Linked DNA regions of Homo sapiens: regions 1, 3 and 4 are each linked to region 2. The links are contacts of gene promoters, found by promoter capture Hi-C in blood cells and fetal thymus (Javierre and others, 2016). All regions are on one chromosome and are shown on one strand. Each heading gives the region's core, a stretch centred on a gene start or on the middle of the fragment in contact. The rest is flanking DNA. Distances are from core to core; before and after follow the strand shown.

The links. The method cuts DNA at HindIII sites, captures the fragments that hold promoters and counts their contacts. A CHiCAGO score of 5 or more calls a contact.
Region 1: a contact is called between a fragment that was not itself captured here and the fragment with the promoter of ZNF202 in region 2, in 1 of 17 cell types (total B cells). The highest score is 5.1, in total B cells.
Region 3: a contact is called between a fragment that was not itself captured here and the fragment with the promoter of ZNF202 in region 2, in 1 of 17 cell types (naive B cells). The highest score is 6.0, in naive B cells.
Region 4: a contact is called between the fragment with the promoter of EI24 here and the fragment with the promoter of ZNF202 in region 2, in 1 of 17 cell types (activated CD4 T cells). The highest score is 5.3, in activated CD4 T cells.

What each region holds. Positions count from the first base shown.
Region 1 is chr11:124,858,819-124,861,981 of GRCh38, reverse strand. No RefSeq gene overlaps it. Among named protein-coding and RNA genes, the nearest start is that of ROBO3, 5.0 kb to the left of the region's middle. The HindIII fragment of the contact is 1,449 bases long and covers 888-2,336 here.
Region 2 is chr11:123,739,827-123,742,995 of GRCh38, reverse strand. It overlaps ZNF202 (zinc finger protein 202), which reads left to right and starts at 1,336. Exons shown (of 9, transcript NM_003455.4): 1 at 1,336-1,447; 2 at 2,460-2,579; 3 at 2,804-2,879. RefSeq lists enhancers at 154-751, 1,741-1,950 and silencers at 1,341-1,390, 1,431-1,560. The HindIII fragment of the contact is 6,844 bases long and covers 1-3,169 here.
Region 3 is chr11:124,955,580-124,958,863 of GRCh38, reverse strand. All of the region lies in intron 2 of CCDC15 (coiled-coil domain containing 15), which reads right to left. Among named protein-coding and RNA genes, the nearest start is that of CCDC15, 3.0 kb to the right of the region's middle. The HindIII fragment of the contact is 1,387 bases long and covers 606-1,992 here.
Region 4 is chr11:125,567,711-125,570,850 of GRCh38, reverse strand. EI24 (EI24 autophagy associated transmembrane protein) reads right to left here and starts at 1,374. Exons shown (of 11, transcript NM_004879.5): 1 at 1,278-1,374. It overlaps STT3A-AS1 (STT3A antisense RNA 1), which reads left to right. Exons shown (of 4, transcript NR_132372.1): 3 at 409-561; 4 at 2,733-2,743. RefSeq lists enhancers at 657-706, 1,209-1,710 and a silencer at 1,147-1,706. The HindIII fragment of the contact is 1,677 bases long and covers 690-2,366 here.

The DNA of each region.
Region 1 (3,163 bases), core at 363-2,862, 1.1 Mb before region 2:
CACCCCCCACTGGTGTGTGAGTGTGTGTGTGTGTGTTCACGTGCTAGGGGAGAGAACAGCTACCCCAGGCTAACTTTCTTGGCCTAGTGCCAGCATATCGGCCAGAGAATGTGGCTGGGAATTTTCAGTGGCCAAGCTGGGGCCATATGGGGAGGCTTCTTGGTGGTCTAAAGCCTGCATGCCGGCTGGTAGTGGATGAAGCTGCTGGCATGTAATTGCCCAGGAGTGCAGTCTGAAGACAACCCCCCATTACTACCACTGCCTCCCCCCAATGTACACACACACTGTCCGGTCCATTTGCATCCCCCCAGAGCCTGTAGCCTGCCATCACTCTCTGCCTGGACCCCTTCCCAGGACATTAATACATATTGAGTGTGAGATTGTGTGTGTGTGTGTGTGTGTGTGTGTGTGTGTGTGTTTGCTGGGAGGGGGACAAAGAAATAACATCTGCCCCTTACCCCCACTAGGGTATGCCTGTGAATGGCCCAGCAGGGCTGCTGGCTTCAGAGTGATGATGCCAGGGGGCAGCGACCCAGCCAGCAGGGGCCAGAGAACCAAACAGGAGGGGGAATCAGAGAGCAAAGAGCAGGCACCCAGCTGGAAAGCAGACAGCAGGAGCCTGCCCCCGGCAGGAGCCAGAGTGTGTTGGCTCAACCCCTATAGCTGCTGAGATAATAAGCCAAGGCCCCCTGCATGAAAGTCCCCCTTTCCCCACAGGGTTCCAGTGGAGGAGACTGTGGGGAGACACTTTGCAACACACTCTACCAAGACTGGAAATCTGGAGACAACTGGGCAGAAATGTTCACATCCCAATACAGATAAAACAAAGTCCAGGGAGAAAAAGAGCTTTCTTGGTTCTTTTTATAAAACTAGATACAGAGCAAGCTTCCATAAATATACACTTGGTGACTATACCTGATTAAATAGTTAGTCCTCACAACTACCCCTGCAGAGCCCACTAGCCTTCTCTCTCTCTCCTTTTGCATTACAGCTGCTGTAAGAAAGTACCAAAAACTAGGTGGCCTAAAACAACAGAAATGTATCCTCTCACAGGTTAGAAGCCTGAAATCAAGGTGTCAGCTGGGCCATGCTCTCCCTGAAGGCTCCAGGGAGGGATCTGTTCTTGCCTCCTCCAGCATCTGCTGATTACCAGCAGTGCTTGGCCTTCCTGGTCTTGAGGATTCATCACTCCATCTCTGCCTCTGTCTTCTTATGGCCTTCCCTGGGTGTGTGTCTCGGTGTCTCTTACCTCTTCTTATAAGGCCACCAGTCATTGGATTAGAGTCCAATTTAATCCAGCATGACTTCACCCTAACTAATTACATCTGCAAAAACCCTCATTTTCAAATGAAGTCACATTCTGAAGTTTTGGGTGAGTAGGACTTTTTTAGGGGGGACAACACATTTAACTTAGTATACCTTATTTTCCTGTATTTCCTTCCTCTTCTGCTCTCTCCATATTCCTGATACTCCCCCAGGGCCCTATTATTTGAGTTTTTAAAATATTCTTGTAATGATAATCATAATGCATGTTCAGGCAAACATATTCAAGCAGTATAAGAAAGTGTAAGATGAAAAGTCTAAGTCCTCACTCCATCAAGTCCTTCTTTATCCTACAGATCCAGTTGCCTGGGTAGCTACCCGTGGTTTCTTGTGTGTCCTTTCTGATTCTTTTTAAAAAGCATATATAAGCATATGTATCTCTATTCCTTTTATTTTATTTATTAATATATTTTTTGAGACAAGGTCTCACTCCGTCACCCAGGCTGGAGTGCAGTGGCACAATCTCCACTAACTGCAACCTCCACTTCCCAGGTGCAAGCGATCCTCCCACCTCAGCCTCCCGAATAGCTGGCACCATAGGCGTGCACCACCACACCCGGCTAATTTTTTTAAAATTTTTTTGGTAGACACGGGGTTTTGCCATGTTGCCCAGGCTGGTCTTGAGCTCCTCAGCTCAGACAATCCACCTGCCTTGGCCTCCCAAAGTGCTGAAATTATAGGCACGAGCCACTGTGCCCATCCTCTCTATTCTTTTAAAGTACAAATTAGCCAGGCATAGTGGCACAGGCTTGTAGTTCCAGCTACTTGAGAGGCTGAGGCAGGAGAATCACTTAAGCCCAGGAGTTCAGGACCAGCCTGGGCAACACAGTGAGACCTTTGTCTCAGATTATTTGTACTGTTCTGCAACTTGCCTTTTTTAACCCATCGATATTTTTAGGGCATCTCTTTCTATCAGTTCATGTATCTCCATCTTTTTTACTTTACTGGCTGGCTAATATTCCATTGCATAGGTTTATTGTACATTTGTAATCAGTCCCCTATTTATGGAAGCTTAGGTTGTTTCTGGCTTTTTGTTTTACAAACAATGCTACTAATAAACATACTACACCTATATCTTTACACACATCTCTAGCTGTAGAATAAATTGTAAAAAGTGAAATTATAGAGGCAAATAATAACTAACAACAGCTAATGTTTATTGAGTGGTTTTATTAATTTCTTCATTCAGCAGATGTTCACCAGGTACCCACTGTGGGCCAGACATAGTTCTGGATGTGCAAGCTACCAGGAATGAGAAAAATCTGAGCACTTTGCAGGCATAATCTCATGTAATGCTCATAGGAACGCTGCGAGGTGGGTACTATTATTTCCAGTTTTCAGATAAGAAAATTATGCCTAAGAAAGCACAGCAAGTAAAGTAACTTTACTTAAGTAACTGCTTAAAGTTACATAGCAAGAAGTATGTGCATTTATATATATATATATACATTTTTTTTTGAGGTGGAGTCTCACTCTGTTGCCCAGGCTGCAGTGGCTCAATCTCGACTGACTGCAACCTCTGCCTCCCAGATTCAGGCGATTCTTCTGCTTCAGCCTTTTGAGCAGCTGGGATTACAGGAGTATGCCCTGATGCCCGGCTAATTTTTGTATTTTTAGTAGAGATGGTATTTCACCATGTTGGCCAGGCTGGTCTCAAACTCCTGACCTCAAGTGATCCGCCTCCCTTGGCCTCCCAAAGTGCTGGGATTACAGGCATGAGCCACCGAGCCCGGCCGCATTTAAATTTTCATATATATCATCAAATTGCCCTTCAAATGGTGCCACAATTGACAGTCCCACAGCAGTGTATGAGAGTCTCTGTCTGCTCACCATGACCAAA
Region 2 (3,169 bases), core at 87-2,586:
CTCTCTTCTTGAGCTGGGACATCATCTCCTCCTGCTCTCTGGCCTTCAGACACCAGCACCTCAATCCCTTTCCAGTTCTCAGGCCTTCAGCTTTAGACTGAATTATACCACCAACCTCCTTATTTCTCCAGCTTGCAGTAAGCAGATGGTGGGACTTCTCAACGTCCATAATTATGTAAGCCAACTCCTTATAATAAATCTCCTTTTATATGTTTATACATACCCCGTGTGAAAGGAAAGTGATTTGGGGCCCCCAAAATCACTAAAGGGAAAATTCATGCTGGGAACTGCTTAGGGCAAACCTGCCTCCCCTTCTATTCAAAGTCACCTCTCTGCTCACTGAGATAAATGCATATCTGATTGCCTCCTTCCGGAGAGGCTAATCAGCAACTCAATGCAACCATTTGTGTCTTATCTACCTATGACCTGGAAGCCCCCTCCCCGCTTTGAGTTGTCCTGCCTTCTGGGTTCACACCTATTAGTTCTGTTTCGCTAATACACTGCCACTCCACCAAAAGTAACTAATCCTTTGGTTCAAACCCAGTAAACAGATCCCAGCAATGTGTCCCATGAAAAGGAAGTGGCACATGGCACGTGGAGAGTGGTGACTTACAGGGTAAAAGGGACAGAGAGCAAAGGAAAATGTCAAGTATGGGCAGAAAGGTCACCGAACGGACAAAAATGAACAAATGAGATCAGGGAAGACAGCCTGAAAGTAAAGAAATACGAAGCAACACTCAAAGGAAAAGAAAGAACAGTGATACCATAACTATTTTCTTTCTGAGCTTCTGATGTTCCATTCAGTTCATGTGCAATGTATCATTTAGTCCTCAGAGTAACGGTATTATTATGCCCGTTTTATATGATGCACAATAGGGTTCAAAGATGGAGAGATTCGGCCGAGGCCCTGCTGCTGATGGTGACTGCAAGAGCCAGTATTCAAACCTAACGCTGCCCTTTTCTACCATGTTGCAGCGGACAATGCAAAGAAAAAAAAATCAAGAAAAACACGTAGAGGTATCCAAATGAAAACAAACACACAAAAGATCAAAAACAGAAAAGAAAAAAGAAAAGAAAAAGAAAACCCTTGCAGAAGGTATGCCTGTAAATGAAAGGCCCAAGATGTTAATTTATTCGCTGCAGAGTGGAGTTAGGGGTCGCGGACGGCAGCTGTGGGGTCCGAGGCTTCTTCGCACTGGGTCCTTGGGGAGCACTGAGCCGCAACCCGCGGAGGGCGCATAGAGAGGATCAAACCTCCCACAGCCTAGAAAGGCTCCTACTCGGCGAGAAGGCGGGGCGAGCGATCGCTTCCGGTTCCGGGCGCAAAGGCCCCACGTGTTCCGACCCGCTAGGCCCCGCGCGGCTCGGATCCGGCGGCGCTGTTTCGGTCGGGAGTGGGTGGGAGAGAAGCCGGGGCAGGGGAGGAGCCGCCGGAGCTGTCGGAGCCGTGAGTCCTGAGTGGGCTGGGCTGGGCCGGGCCGGGCTGGACCGGGCCGGACCAGATCGGGCAGAGCCGGGCAGGGCGGGGAGGAGGGGGAGGGACCGGAGACCCCGCCCCCCAGAGTCTGGGGAAATCGCCGTGTCCTGGGGAAGGGGTGGCGGCGGTGTACTGAGGGTGCCGAGACGTTGTGGTCTCTGTGTTTCCTGGTGGCCGGAGCCAGTATCTCCGGGGACACGGATGGCGCTCCCGGCTTCCTTTCCTTTCCAGCCACCGCCCTCCGCCCCCTCCTGGGGCCTGCAGAAATGTAGTTAGTCCGTACCTCGTACCTCCTAACGCTTCCGCGCCAACTGTCCCCCCGGAACCGAGGGAGGAGTGGTCTAGGCCCCTTTATTTTCCGCAGCTTTTTCTTACCCCTCCTCTCAGATTGCTTAAGATCATCTCCGCGGGCTCCTTGCCCCGGCTAGCCCCATCTCCTTACACCACCAAGCCCCCCTCAGCCCCCCAGCACACACCCAGATACACTCACCCGTGATCTTGTCACCTGTGATGATAGTAGTCCTTGGCGTCCATTTGGCCAGAGGCTTTTCAGCTGCCACTGTGACAGACCCTGAGGTCCCCTCAAGCCAGTAGCTGCTGTCTCCACTTGCAACTTTCCTCTCCTCCCACTCCTAACAGCCAGTTTTGGCACCTCTTCTCAGCACCTGCGTTACTTTTAGCAGGAGTATACCTACTTCTTGAGTGTCTTGATTAAAAATTTGTTTTTGTGCCATGGATAGGCTGTGTTCCTTCAGAAAGGTGTCAGTCTAATTTTTGTTTTTCTGAACAATGAATGTTCTCATCTTCTAGGCGCTTTGATAACCCTGTCTGCCTTGGAATCTGTACTGACCTCCCCAGAGGGAGACTCTTAGACCCAGCCTTTCTTGAACAACCTTGGTCCTGGGGAGCAGCGCTAGATCCCAGGCTCTCAATTAGAGGCTGGGCTTAGAACTGTTGCTTTTTCTCTATCCACGCTCTGCAGGTGACACCCAGGGCAGCTACACTCAGAAGCCACAAGGAATGCTAGTGGAGCCCCTCATCCCTCCCAGCTTCTCTTCCAAGCTGCCCCGTGGGGCTTGATCCAGGAAGCTACTTCAGAAAGGTTGTGGGATAGCCTTGGGAGGAGGTTTGTTGGTGGGAAGCGTGTGAACGCGGAGCAGTCTGGGATAACTTTCTGCTGTTACTATCTAGCATAAGAGGGTGGGCAGGGTTGGAGAGAGGACAGGAATTTTTCCTCCTAGGACCAAACGCCTGGGATTCATAATCTTTCACCCTTTCTCCTCCAGCTATACCCTTTTTGTACTCTGTGTATATACTATATTGCAGTAGACAATCATTCCAAGGGTACAACAAGGTTTACCACAATGTGAGGGACTCAGCCATTGCAAATTGTACAGATGAGGTAAGTTACAGGTTTACATTTTTTTTTCCCAGTAAATTTGGCACAGATTTAAAATGTGAAACAGTTCTATACCCCTTGTTTTTGCTGTTCTCTCACCAGCAAACCCTTTAGTTTGGCCAGCAATGGCTTTCTGCATGAACTTCAGATTTACTTCATTTGCTAGGTGGTGGTTCTCAAACTTACTATAAGCACCTGAAGGGCTAGTTAAACGCATATTGCTGGGGCCCACCCCTAGAGTTTCTGGTAATAGGTCTGTGCTGGGGCTTGAGAATTTGTACTTCTAACAAGGC
Region 3 (3,284 bases), core at 50-2,549, 1.2 Mb before region 2:
TAGTCAAGACACACCAGGTTACTTACCACTCACCAAATATGTCCTATTGTTAAAATGTCTTCATATTTGGCATTATGCTCCATTTTTAACCTGGCATGCCCTTCCTTTCATCTCCACCTAGTAAAGGCCTATTCAGTTTTCACAACCATTTAATACCCACTCCCCAGTACCTTCCACAACACTCTCTCTCTAAGCCCTCTTATGCTATAACACCTCTCATTTCACCAATGTTAACTGAGTATAGTACTTCTTGACTCCCCTACTAGATTATGAACTCTTTGAGGACAGGATATGTATTCAATTCTCCTTTATTTCCCCTACGGCATCTAGTACAGAGCCTTCACTATAAGGGTAGTCAATATATATTTATATAATTGCTCAATTCCAAAACATATTCTAAACCAGGGGTGTCCAATATTTTGGCTTCCCTGGGCCATGTTGGAAGAACTGTCACATAAAATACATTAACACTAGTAGCTGATGAGAAAAAAAAAAATCACAAAAAAACTCATAGTGTTAATTAAGAAAATTTATTAATTTACATTGGGTCGCATTCAAAGCCATCCTGGGCCACATGTGGCCCATGGCCGCATGTTGGACAAGCTTGTTCTGAACAATCTGGAACACTTTATCCCATTTGAGTTCTTGATCTGCATTTATCTCCTCTAAGTGCTTTGAATAATAATCATAGTCATCATCATAACAGCACTTATCATTATTATGGATCTATCAGGTGACAAGTATTTTAACTACTTTGTAGCACTCTATCCTCAAAACCACCTTTGGCAGTAGGTATTCTTATCCCTTATGTTACAGATGAGGAAGCTGGAGTTCAGAAAGATTAAGTAATTTTAATATAGCTAACTAGTAGCAGAATTAGAAGTTTCTGACTCCAACAATTATGTTCCTCTCTACACTGCTTTTCTCTTGACTATGTCTCTCTTTCACTAGGAATTTTCAAATTAAATAAAATCATCATCATATCTCGTACCTATTCCTTCTAACTCAGTGATTCCAACTTCTAATTCTGAAGGGTACCTCAGATCATTTTACAGGCTGTCATTAAATTCTCAAAATCAAATGCATTCAAATTTCAATTTAAGTTAAAATTTCCAAGATGTCTATCCCATAAACTACTCTAGTGGAGTGTACAAGTGTCAAAGAACAATTAGGTAAAATAATTCCAACGGAGAGATATATACGTAATGAAGCCTGAACAACTGACCCAGCTTAACTCAAGCCCCAGACAAGTTTAAGCCATTCGGCCTCTTTCTTTTACCTCCATTTTCTCTGCTCCTCTTTTACTCCACAAGATTACAAGCCAGGTCATAAAGAAACTTCCACCTCTGTTCTTAGAGTGCTCATTCTGAAGGAAGTCAGCACCATATAAAAATTCAGACTACCCTGAGATTACCATGCTGTGAGGAAGCCCAAGTTAGTCAAACAGAGAAGCCATGTGAAAAGAGAAACATATCTAACCAGCACCCAGACATTCTAGTCATCCTAGGCCAAGCGTCAGATATGTGAATAAGAAAGCCATCTTGGACATTACAGCCCAGCAGGTGCCACATTACTGGGAGAACTTGACTATTGTCTAGCTCCAGCCAATAGCCGGAAAATAGTCAAGGTGTCTCAGACATGTCCAGTTATTTGAGCCCCAGCTGAGGTCCCAGACACTATGGGGCAGAAACAAGCCATTACCACTGTACCCTGCTCAAATTCCTGTTACATAGTATTATTTGCTTTATACCACTAAGTTCTGGGGTGGTTGGTTACACAGCAAAAGGTAACCAGAACAAATTATAAAATAATGCAATCCCATATATGATGATAGAACAGCAGTGTCTTTTGATGCTAATTTATTAATAATTATTGGGGGGAGGTAGTCTAAAGCTATGACATTTTTAGGAATCCTGATGGCCCCCTGAAATTTTGGGGAGAAAAATGAGTAGAAGTTCCCCTTTAGAACAGACATGATCTAAGGGCCAAGCTTTAGAAGTAACTATTCAGCATTTATTTTGAGCTGACAGAGCTATATCCGTTAATAAGGGTGGATACCCAGACTAGATATGCTAAAGCTATAAGGAGTTCTATTAGATGCTTGATCAAACTCCCTTTGGCTGGAACTGATCAGAAATTTTTAAATCAGGAAAAGGAGATATGTTTATCCATGTTCCAAGACTTTAATATTTTGAGTTAATGTGTGTGAATACGATAGTCAATACTTCTTAACATAGAAAAAGTTTGATGGTGTCAAATTTTAGGCATGTTGACACTACTGATATTATACAGATGTAATTTGAGCAATTACAAAGAGGTGTCAACAACTTAAATACCAAAATATCTTTATACCAAATCTTACCAAGTCTTGTGGGGTGTTTCCTGCATTCATCCCTTCTCATTCCACTCCTTTTTTTTTTCCAGAGATGGGGTCTCACTCTATTGCCCAGGCTAGAGTGCAGTAGTATGATCATAGTTCACTGCAGCCTACAATTCGTGGGCTCAAGCACTTCAATCATCCTTTTTCAAGGCTGTTCTTCTCTATTTCTTACCACTAACAAAGTTTCGATGCTATACTCCATGCTTAAATTATTATAATTATATTCTAATTTATCCCCAGGATCCAATCACTCCCTATCCTTCAAAACCTTTGAAGCAATTCATCTAAAGAAAACACTGGTTGATCATGACATTCACCTGTAAATATTAAACAAAGTCAATCCCTTCTCCAAAATTTCCTAAGGTACTCTACCATCCCTATTTTCCATAATCCTGTCAGCAACCATTCTCCTACTAAGCTTTCCACTCCAATCGATCTAATCTACCCTTAGAATCCTGAACCTTGCTTACTTCTTACTCTCCTCATTCTCCTTAATAGGAGAATCATTCCCTTCCCTTCTCCGATCAAATTCTTCATTACACTTTCCTGGGTCACATCAACCCAACGTCATAGCTTCTTGATTGAGCATTATATTCTTAGAACTTAGATAGAGATACCACCTAGACTCTTAAAATCCTTTTTGGAAATAGGCAGGGTAGGAATAAATCAATGAATATACATACATATGTGCAAACATAAATAAAATGAATATAGTATATTGCATTACTTTAACATTTAAACACATCTCATTTCTCTTCTGAGATCAAGTACACTGAGGGAACATATCTCATCCTTTTTTCATCCATGTTCAGCACCTTGTCTACACATACAGAAGACATTTTGTGCCTTTCATAAATACTTCATGAGTGTCTATATTGATTAGGCAGTATTTAAGATAAAAGTG
Region 4 (3,140 bases), core at 125-2,624, 1.8 Mb before region 2:
GCTCAGTGATATGCACGACACTAGTTTGTAAAGACTCACAGATCCACTCCCGTAACCTGCCACTGGCTCATCTATAAATTAAGGGTACTAAACTTCTTCATAGGTTTCTTGCATCTAATAGGGCACAACAGCATGAAAAAAACTTAAAATTCTATATAAACACAACCCCACCAAAGTGAGCCAGCTTGGAGGTTTAAGGAAGCCCATTACTTGGCCTGGATTTCTCACAGGGAACTGACAGGGAACCTGAAACATTCTGTCTCAGTCCACAACAGCTGTGTCATTTGATCCCTGGCCAGCTAACACCTGGTTTCTGCATGTACCAAGTGGCAGGACACCTCCTAAGAGTGACCTATGAAGGATAAATCACTTCACTTTTATACTTAGATCCTAACATCCTTCCTACAGGAATATTTGGTGAATTACCCAGTCTGACAAATAGCTGAGGCATGGGGAAAAATAACCTGCCACAATTTGAGAACACACACACAGACTGAATGACACAGGGGGAATCCTACAGCTGAGCTAGACAGATGAAGATGCATCTGGCTCATTTAACAGGTGAGAGAACCCAGTCTCAGAAGTTAAATGACTTGCCCAGACTGACAGCAAATGAATGGCAGCTACAGTGAACCTCAGAACCCGGTGTTCTAACGTTACCTCGGTCGAGACTTGTTTTTACTTAAGCTTTGCAATGAAGATTTTTGTTTTAACACGAGCATCCCATGGACAAATAACCTCTCAAACCTGGAAATACAAATGCCATTAAATTCCCAACAGTCATTAGAAGCTAATAAGCATCTGCTGAGACACACTTTTATTTCTAAGTCACTAAACCCAAGTCTCGGCAAACAGGAAGCTGTCGTAGCCCACTCCAGGTACAGGGAAGGTAAACATCCTCACTTCCCACGGGGCTCCACGGGCTGCCTCTGAGTCCACGGGTCCATTCAGGCCCATCTCCCCACAGCTCCTAGGCAATTCGGCAGAAAACTGGTCTCCCTAGGCACAACTGTGCACGAGGTACGGATCACGCGAGGTGCGGATCACGCACGCTCCGGGTCACACAGGGAGCTAAAGATAGCTGCGCCGCACCTGGGGCAGCCTCGCCCGGGGATGTGCCCGGCCCCGTCCCGCTCCCTCCGGCCCCTTCCCATAAGGGGTCCTCGCCGGTAGCCCCACCAACCCACGCTCGGGCCCTGCCTGCCCTCCCGGTCCCTGCCACTCAGAATGGGCGGCGCGGCGGCCCCGAGGCCTAGCTCGGCTGAGCCCGCACCTACCCACAGCTCCGCCGCCGCGGCTCCGGCCCTGCCCCTAGCCCACCGCAGGCCAGCTCCGCCGGGGCGCTTCCAGGGCCGGGGCCGCTGCGCCCGCACTGGGCATGCCCGGGCCGCACGGGGCCGCTGGGAAGTCGGGCGAGCGCGAAGAACCAGCCGGCACCACGAGGCGGGGCCCAGAGCCGAAGGGGTGGGCCGCGCGGAGCGACGGAGACTGGGAAATGTAGTCAGTCCGGGGTCCCGCCTCGCGCTGCGTGCGGGATCGTCCGGCTCCCAACTCCGCCTGGCGGCGGAGAGGACCCCTCACCCCTCCGCGTCGCCTCCTCCCCGTCGCCTCCTCGCCGATCCCGTTCTCACAGATCTCTCCTCCTGTTCTTTGCCCTCCCCCATTGACTCCACAACGCTGCTTGCGTTTCTAAAATCCTGTGAAATTAGTAACAGGATGCCTTTAATCCCAGCATTTTGGGAGGCCAAGGCAGGCAGATCACGAGGTCAGGAGTTCAAGACCAGCCTGGCCAACATAGCGAAACCCCATCTCTACTAAAATAACAAAAATTAGCCAGGTGTGGTGGTACCTGCCTGTGGTCCCAGCTACTCAGGAGGCTGAGGCAGGAGAATTACTTGAACTCAGGGGATGAAGGTTGCAGTGAGCCGAGATCACACCACTGCACTCCTGCCTGGGCGACTGAGCAAGACTCAGTCTCAAAATAATAATAATAATAATAAATTTAAAAAATGAAATAAAATAAGTGGCTGGGCACGGTGGCTCATGCGTGTAACCTCAGCACTTTGGGAAGCTGAGGCGGGCAGATCACTTGAGGCCACCCTGGCCAAGATGGTGAAATCCCGTCTCTACTAAAAATACAAAAAATTAGCTGGGCATGGTGGCACACACCTGTGGTCCCAGCTACTTGGTCGGCTAAGGAATGAGAATCACTTCAATTCAGGAGGCAGAGGTTGCGGTGAGCCGAGATCGCACTACTGCACTTCAGCCTGGGTGACACAGCTAGACTGTCTCGAAAAATAAAATAAAATAAAACAAAACAAAACAATATAAAATAGAATAGAATAAGGAATCCATCTACTAAAGCTTAGAAATCTTGTTACAAAGAGACCTAAGTGGTTTAATGACAAACTGATTATTGTGCTATTAATTATAATAATAGCTCTTCCTCCAAGCTCTATTCTTTCTCAAGAGTGTCAATTTAGAAAAGATTTTAGAAAGAATTTAGTAGGTATGAGTTTATTCTGGCTTACTTCATGGGAGGAAATCTTTTTTTTTTTTTTTTTTTGAGACTGAGTCTGTCTTTGTCTCCCAGGCTGGAGTGCAGTGGTGCGATCTCGGCTCACTGCAAGCTCCGCCCCCTGGGTTCACGCCATTCTCCTGCCTCAGCCTCCTGAGTAGCTGGGACTACAGGCACCTGCCACCAAGCATGGCTAATTTTTTTGTATTTTTAGTAGAGACGGGGTTTCACCGTGTTAGCCAGGATGGTCTCGATCTCCTGACCTCGTGGTCCGCCCACCTACAGCCTCCCAAAGTGCTGGGATTACAGGCGTGAGCCACTGCGCCTGGCCGGGAGGAAATCTTTTAAATCTCAACATGTATAACCACATTTAAAATAAAAACCAATAATAATTAATACCTTGCATTTTTAAAGAGCTCTCACATGCTTATGTATGATTAGATGCTATTTGTGGACAAGTAGAGGATATTATTTTCCAAATTTCACAAATGAGGAAGTTTGTGGCAGAGCACTTTGAGAAGACATGACCTCCAGTTAAGCTGTGAACCTTAGTTTCTTTTTTTTTTTTTTTTTTTTTTTGAGACAGTGTCTCTCTATCTTGGCTCACTGCAAGCTCCACCTC